2 separate regions of the Homo sapiens genome follow, and region 2 is linked to region 1. The links are contacts of gene promoters, found by promoter capture Hi-C in blood cells and fetal thymus (Javierre and others, 2016). All regions are on one chromosome and are shown on one strand. Each heading gives the region's core, a stretch centred on a gene start or on the middle of the fragment in contact. The rest is flanking DNA. Distances are from core to core; before and after follow the strand shown.

The links. Contacts are between HindIII fragments. The CHiCAGO score rates a contact against its expected background, and 5 or more counts as called.
Region 2: a contact is called between a fragment that was not itself captured here and the fragment with the promoter of NPAS2-AS1 in region 1, in 4 of 17 cell types (endothelial precursors, M1 macrophages, M0 macrophages and 1 more). The highest score is 9.0, in endothelial precursors.

The regions. Positions count from the first base shown.
Region 1 is chr2:100,974,886-100,979,079 of GRCh38, forward strand. NPAS2-AS1 (NPAS2 antisense RNA 1) reads right to left here and starts at 2,276. Exons shown (of 3, transcript NR_110213.1): 1 at 1,831-2,276; 2 at 400-528. It overlaps NPAS2 (neuronal PAS domain protein 2), which reads left to right. Exons shown (of 21, transcript NM_002518.4): 13 at 1-59; 14 at 573-682; 15 at 2,825-2,914. The HindIII fragment of the contact is 3,647 bases long and covers 1,779-4,194 here.
Region 2 is chr2:100,784,342-100,788,396 of GRCh38, forward strand. No RefSeq gene overlaps it. Among named protein-coding and RNA genes, the nearest start is that of NPAS2, 34 kb to the right of the region's middle. The HindIII fragment of the contact is 2,723 bases long and covers 329-3,051 here.

The DNA.
Region 1 (4,194 bases), core at 1,026-3,525:
ATCGGCGTCCTCAAGAAGTTCCCACAAATCCTCGCACACAGCCATGTCAGAACCCACCTGTGAGTGCGAGTCCATGGATGGGGAGTGGGATGTCCACATCAGACCAGAGGGACAGCCCCACAGAGGGTCCCGGGCCCAAGTGGAATCAGGGCAGTCTGTGCCTCCGACAGAGGTTGCCGTGCAGTTTATACTCCTCCTTTCCTTTCCCAGACTTCCCGCCTCCTGATCACCTCTCCACACTCTGGTATCCATTCATTGCCAAGCAAAGACATTGAGTGGGTTGTGCACAGATCTGATCCCTTGACTGCTTTTAGTAATTCTGGGGAGGCGTCTGATCAGGCAGCTCATTGGACCAAGCAGCCGAAATGAAGTTTAGGGAGTGTTTGTGGTGTCTCCTACCTGCTCCCAGGCTGGGCTTCTGTGGTTCAGCTCAACCCTGCATGGTGGACTTCCTTTATCAGAGATCCCAAGCGAGCTCTTGTACTGTGCACACCACGGTCATGGGTCCCCTCTTCGGATGAGTACATGCTAAGTACATGGAAGTTAGAAGGTCATTCGTTGCTTTCTTACAGCCACTCCCACCAAGCTGATGGCAGAGGCCAGCACCCCGGCTTTGCCAAGATCAGCCACCCTGCCCCAAGAGTTACCTGTCCCCGGGCTCAGCCAGGCAGCCACCATGCCGGTAAGTGTGTGACCCCAAACTCCTCCACGGGTGTACGCTACAATGTGGTGGGGGCTGCAGAGCCAGGCGATGTGCTGCGTCTCCCCAGAGAATCCGTTTTACTTAGGGATTGAGAGTGTAGGGTGGCAGATGGGGGTGGGAAGTTAAGTAATTTAATTGGCAACTAATTTTAAACATTTGCATGACAAAATTAACATGGATGCATATCCATTAGAATACAAAATCCAAGTGAATTTTAAGGATTAAAGGCAAAACTGCAAACCCGGGGTCATACCCTCATACCCCCAGAGCCCCTGGGGCTACACAATTAGGATTCTTCTGTTTTGAATCCCCTTTCATGCTGGTGAAAATATTTGAGCAGCTCAGTGTCAACAAAAATGTACCTCTGCACATATCAGGTAGCGTCCCCAACATGTGCCAGATCCTTCCAGAACATCGGGATGTATGGCCCTGGCTATATGTAAAGTCACTGGCATGCACCACTCTGGTCATCTATTGCCAGGTAGCAAACTACACCTAACTTAGTGGCCTAAAGCAACCACATGTATGAAGTTCATGGAGTCTGGGTCAGGAATTCAGAAAGGGCATCATGGGGATGGCACTTCTCTGCTCCTTGGTGTCGGGGATCTCGTGGGCCTAGGCTATGGAATGCACCCACCAGATGGTGTCTGCACATGAATGTCCAGCAGCCGGGCTGGGTGGCTGAGGGCTGGGCTCAGCTGAGGCCATCCGTCATTGACTTGCATGGGCCTCTCAAGCCTTAGGCTTCTCCTGGCATGGTGGTGGACTCCAGGTTCCAAGAGGAGACACCTGGAGACGCAGGCAGGAACCATGCAGACCTCTGTGACCTAGCCACGGAAGTCATATAGTATCACCACTGCCATACCTCTTGGTCAAAGCAGCCCTGAGCTCACCCATGAAGAGGGATATAGACCTCCACTTCTAGACGGGAGAAGTACCCAGGAATTTTAGGGGCCACCTCCAGATAGTTGCCAAACCCCTCCCACCCACACTTCACTGTCACTTTGGAGATGGAGTGAACGTGCCACCTTCCTGCTTGCTGTCTCCATAAAGGCTGTGCACACCCTGCTTGAGAAGCTTGGGCGATGCGTTTTATTTTCAAGTAGAATGTGGCAAAGACCACTTACTTTCTCTCCAGCCACCTCCAGATGCGCTTGCAAGCTGTGCCTGCCATTCTTCCAGACTCTCCTGTCCAGTGTGACTCACTTTGCCAACAACGGAGGCCCAGAGTGCTTCTGTCTCCTCCCAGCTGCGCAGGGAAACAGAACCCAGACCAGCTTCTGGATCAGCCCTGTGCCTGGGATTTCTCACTGAAACAAGGTCTCCTGGTGTCATTTCCTCCCAATGCTGTCCTGGGTGACACTTTCCATTTGAGCTGCTTTTTTATATAGGCCCTAGCAACTAGGGGCCGTGTCGGAATAACTTCAGACGAGTCCTTTCACTGTTCTTTAAAAAAAAAAAAAACCACTAGAAAACCACTAGCCCGTGAAGCAGAGTGTTTCATTTCTTGTTACTATACATTGTCTCCCCCACCCACCCGAGTGATCAGGGAGCGCAGATGTGACTCAGCTCACTTCCCAGGAGTCTCTTAAAAGGTTCTGGGCAGAGGCTGGTGAAACTGCCCCAGTCCTCACTGCCTGGATGAGTTCATGGACAAACATGCATGGCGTGTCTGTCCATCTGCATTAGCGCTGAGCAGAAAAGATACGGACGCACAGCAGCTCATGGTAGCAGTCCACGCACGTCGTCCTGCTTGATGACACCGCTAAGAATTAATCCATTTGGGAGGAGAGCAACCAAATCCACCCAGGGCGGAGTCCAGGACAGCAGGCAAGGGAAGGGAAGTAGAGCTGAGCTACCAGGCTTGGGCAGGTAGCAGCAGCCTGGCAGAGCACACTGTGGTGGGGTGGAAGCCTGCACCAGTTGTGCAGGGGCTCTGCCCTTGTGCCCTGCGTAGGAAGCAGTGCAGCCAGGGAACAGACACCTATACTTTCTAGAACTCTTGACTTGGAGCTGTTCACCCCAGTGCGGAACGCAGAGAACCCACCGGACCAAGAGACCACATCCCTGTCCCCTGGAATGGCAGAAGCAGTGGTAACAAAGCCCCTTTCTCTCCCACAGGCCCCTCTGCCTTCCCCATCGTCCTGCGACCTCACACAGCAGCTCCTGCCTCAGACCGTTCTGCAGAGCACGCCCGCTCCCATGGCACAGGTGAGTCTGGGACCCAGGAAAGGGCAGCCCCTCTCAAGCCAGAAGTCCGCAGTGTGCTGCGCTGATGGTCTTGTACACTTAGGTCCCAACCAAGGCCCTGACGTGGGGGAATGTCCCTCCCAATGTGTGTGTGGCCTGTGTCGAGCCATGAGGTTCCCCCCACACCCACCCTCTCGTCTCCAAGTTCTTTTTTCCAGTGTCTGGGGTTTTCTTTTTTTAAATTTCAGTAGTTTTGAGGGAACAGGTGGTGTTTGATTGTATGGATAAGTTCTTTAGGGGTGATTTCTGAGATTTGTGTACCTGTCACCCGAGCAGTGTACACTGTACCCAATATGTAGTCCTTTATGCCTCACATCCCCCCACCCTTGCCCCACCAGTCCCAAAGTCCATCATTTCATTCTTATGCCTTTGTGACCTCATAGTTTAGCTCCCACTTAGAAGTGAAAACATACGATATTTGGTTTTCCATTTCTGAGTTGCTTCATTTAGAATAATGACCTCCAGCTCCATCCAAGTTGCTGCAGAAGTCCAGAGTCTGTTTTTTTAATTCTTTTAACAGTCTCTGTTCACCTCTTTGCCACTTTTCCACATTCCTCTTGTTCTTTACGACTCCAAATTGGCCATGGTATTTTAGAAAAGGTCTGAATTGGGCTGCATGTCATAGAAAGACTGAAAGGATCTAAAAGCCGTGAGTCCAGCACTATAAATATCACATTTGTTTAAAAAAAAAGAAAGAAAGAAAGAAAGAAAGAAAAGAAAAGGATTACGGCTTTGCTGAGTAATTCCATCCTTGTTTCAACAACATTCGGTGAGTTACTATTTGGGTCAGTCAGTGAGCGAGGTGTTAGGGATGTAAAGATGTAAGTCAGCCCTTGCTTTTAGTTCTCAGAACTAAAGGGAGAGACAGGCATGTAAACAGAGACGCCGCCGTGGCAGGGCATGCGTTTTTATAGAACCGTGAAGGAAATATTCTACCCAGGGAAGTCTGACGTGGCTTCCTGGAGGAGGTGACGCTTGAGTTGGCCCCGGAAAGGTGGGTAGGAGGTTGCCAGATGGTTTGGCAGGGGGACAGCAGGGATGTGCTTCAGCAGGGAGTTCTGAACACGGGGAGTGACAAACCCTGCCCAGGCCTGAGCTCTGACTTCAGTTCCCTCATAGGAGACTTAGCTCTGCCCAGACCATGGCCACAGGCTAGAGCTGCGTCCCAGACGGCAGTTCAGCAGCAGGTGCCCCTCTCTGTCTTGGCACACATCTGTCACCACTGATGAAAACTATTTCGG
Region 2 (4,055 bases), core at 440-2,939, 190 kb before region 1:
CAGTGGCTCTCTGGAAAGATGGCCAAGTTGAACTTTGTCCCATTCCTGGCTGAGTTCTCCCACTTTCCCACTCTCACCCTATGAGAGCTGATTCGAGAACAATAGGTTTTGATCAACACCTGACTGACATCTACGAATGTGGTTTTTTAGGGTCAACATCTCCCGGATGTAACAACTAATTTGGAACATAAAGAAAATGAGAGAGAAACCCTTGTCCAACATGTTATTGAATCATGCATTGTTTGCTTCAGATTCAGAGTTGGAAACAATCTGACTACCAGAAACCAAAAAGCAGATTAAAAAGGAATAACACTAATCAACATTGTTAAGCTTCTATCACGTGCCAGTCACTTCATATGCACTTTCTCTCAATTGCACAAAAAGCCTTGCAAGGTGAGTATTACTGACACTGCATTACAGATGAGAAAACTGGGGCTCAGGGGGTTCATGAGCTCGCCCGAGTCTGACCCCAGAGCCTGTTCTCCTGGCTGTATATCATCTGCAGTTTCAGGGTCAAAGGCCGTTCTATTAAATCATCTGCACAGCCCGTTTTCGTACTTCAGATGAATAACCCTTTGGTTGATTTATAACTTTTAAAGTGTGACTAGTCAGTCATAATGGCTGACCAGAGCAACTTAGGCATGGTTTATGAGCAGAAATGGTATTACGAACAGAAAAGGTATATATTGTCTACTATATGCAGAGTCCAGGCTACAAACTGTGACGTTTGTGAAAAAATTCAAGTTGCAATGCCTGCCCTCAGGAGCTTAAAATCTAGTCCTGATATCTTGCTGTTTTGGATGCTTTCTTCACCCTGCACCCTGATGGCCACCCTGTTCTATGGCCGATACTGCTGCAATGGCCTGTGCGCCATTAGTCACACACTCAGAGGGCACCATCGCAGGCCGGGTCTGCCCTCGGCACTTGGCATGGAAAAATGAAGGCTGTCTGAGCCTCAGTTGCTTTATCCACAGGCGGGGCTCATGATCCTTGTCCTGCCTCTCGCATGGGGATTGCAGAAAAATAAAATGAGATAATAGAAGTGATCGCACTGCAAAATGAAAAGCATTCTATCAGTCTAAAATGGTATTTCTTATGATTTATGACTGGAAACCTTTGCTTTTTATTTTATTGGAGACTTACTTGATTCCAATTTGAGCTGATATTGTGGTTTTTACAGAACAGACTGCCATTTATTGAATTCCTGATTTGTGGCAGACACATAGATTATCTCATTTAATCCTCACAACAGCTCTGTGATGTAGGCACTATTATTATTATCCCCATTTAACCAATGAGGAAGCTAAGATTCGGAGAGCTTAGGTGAATGGCAGAGGAAAGACGTGGCTGCAGGCTTGTCTGTCTCCACAGCCCATGTCGGGCCACCAGGATCCAGGTCGCAGCAGAAGAAACAACCTTAGGACTGAGAGCAAGCAGGCATTTCTACCCACTCAATGCATCAGCGCTCAGGCAAGCAAGAGGTGCCTTGCTATGGATGCTTACTTAAGAGGACACACCCTTGGCACGGGTGGTTCTCCAAATACAATAACACAAGCCAGTGAGGATGCTCAGATTTAGAAAAGCAAAACTCACATCAAGTGCATCACCCCTAAAGCCCCCCAGCATTGTGTATGAACAGTGACCCCCACCTAGAGACACACACATCAAGAGTGTGTGGCTGGCATAATCTCACCAGATTACTAGGAACCTGGTCTGTTTGTATTACCTCAGATGTTTGTTTTTGCTTACAAGCCGGGTATGATGTTGAGACAAATTATCTAACAACCCTCACAGATGAATGATATTTTCCTAGTTATTAAAGGTCATCTGCAGTCACTGCTGTATTGCAAGGCTTCTCACCGTGGAACTCGGTCCCTTCTTCCTGTCTGAAACTGTTCAGCTATAGAAAGATTCCTCCTCGGCTTCCAAAAAAGAAAACCAAGTTGATATTTTGCCGAATTTGAATTGCAACCAGAAAAGAAGGTCAAGTTTTAAAAGAAGTAACACGGGAGGGGATTGTAATTAAATCGCTCTGGGCTGGGTAGGGATGATTCATTTCAAGTACATAACATTCTGGGAAGCATGTGACCAAAGGTATTTTTCTAAATAACCTCAAGTACTAGTCAAGTGAGTCTTTAAATTGCATGCCAGCGACATCTCCTAACTGGTATTTTGCTTGGCAGGCGCTGAGCCACCACCACAGCCCGGATTTTCCTGCAGGCAGAGCCCAGTCTTGTTTCGGCAGTCATGCCTGCTGCTTTTTGCTTCTGCCTGGAAAGATGGCACAGCTGCAGAGGATAGGCACATTTGGTGGCCTCTACCTGTCAAGGGTGACTCTACTCAGTTAGGGGGTCTTCTCTAAGGCCCATGAAGATGGCATGACCAGAGTCCTTGGGTTGGGTATGACAAAGCCTTAGGTTTTCTCCAAATGGTGGCACTGCTGAAATTCTACCTCTTCCAGGAAATTTTTGTCAAAAACAATGAGGAGACCCTAGGTGATGGCCACTCAAACATCACCCCCCTTACTCTGACAGTACCCAGCCCCCACCCTCATGCTGCTCCACTCCCATCATCCAAATTGTGCCCAAGGTTGCTGTCAGATTAGTATAGTGACTCTTCTCTCAAGATGCACCAGGGTATGTCCTGGCGTGACCACCTGACCCAAGCTGAGCCCATCAGAGACCTTTCAAAGCCAGACCACAAAAGTGGAGGAAGCTGATCTCTAGAAGAGAAGGACAATTGATCAAATGTCCAGAGAGGGGCAGGACTAAATTTAGCAACAGAGTGTTCTGAGGGTGTTTGAGTCCCTGGTCTGTTTGCCCTGACATCCAGCTATTCCTAGATCCTGCAGGACACCGAGCCTTAAAATTAGTTTCCTTGTTCTCTCAGGCTGGTTCAAGTGCAGTGTCTGTCACTTGCAACCAAAAGATTCCTAATAATGTCACCTGACTCTCTTTCACTCATGATCTCACTATTACATATGAAATCTCTGTAATTGTACTTTGTCTACTTGCACAGGCATCTGGTTTATAGGTGGACTTACTTTAAGAAAGCTTGATATGTTCAAATGCAAATAATCCAGCCTGAAGAATGATGGATAAGTATTAACACCCCCTAAAGAATTTTTTATTCTACAAAAAAAGAACTTACTACATGGGGTTTTTTCCAATTACCTAATGCATTTTCCTAATGCGTGAAAAGTATTCTTTTGAATTCAAAGTGTTTATCAAAGAGATTAGTAAAATAAATTATGATGCACCATATGTGTTAGTCTGTTCAGGCTACCCTAACGAAGTACCACAGACTGGGTGGCTTAAAAACAGAGATTTATTGTCTCACAGTACTGGAGTTTGGAAGTCCAAGACCAAGGTGTTGGCAGAGTTGGTTTCTTCTGAGGCCTTTCTACTTGGCCTGTAGACAGCCATCTTCTCCCCGTGCTCTTCAGATCAACTTCCCGCTCTATGTGTCTAAAGTTCCCCTTTTAATCATGTGAACAAATGTGAACCTGAAAAAGCCAACCCTTTAAGTGGCTAACTGGGCCTAAATTTAAAATAGAGCCAAGCAGCCATTTGCTGCCTAGAGGTCACGCATGTACTCTATGTTCTCCCAAAAACCCACACTTTTTAACCTTTGGGACTTTCAGAGCTCACCATAACCAACCAATCAGTGCTCATCTACCTTAGCCAATCAGGGCTCAGCTGTATCTAGCAATGGGCACTCAGCTGCACTGACCAATAAGAACTCAGTTGTGTCAACCAGTAAGAACTAAATGAATCTCAATCCTTCATTTGCATAAATGGACCTGATTGGGAACCTGGGCAAGAACTTTTGCTATAAAACCTGTCTTCCTTTTGCTCTCTGGAACAAATTTTTGTTTCATAACAAAGGCTGTGTTTTCCTAGTTTGCAAACTGTTTACTAGAATAAAGTCTCTTTCTTCTAAATTCTTTTTCAAAGAACTTTTGTTCACAATAGGAACACCAGTCATTTTGGATGAGGGCCCACTTAATGACTTCGTTTTTACTTAATTAATCTGTAAATACAATCTACATATAA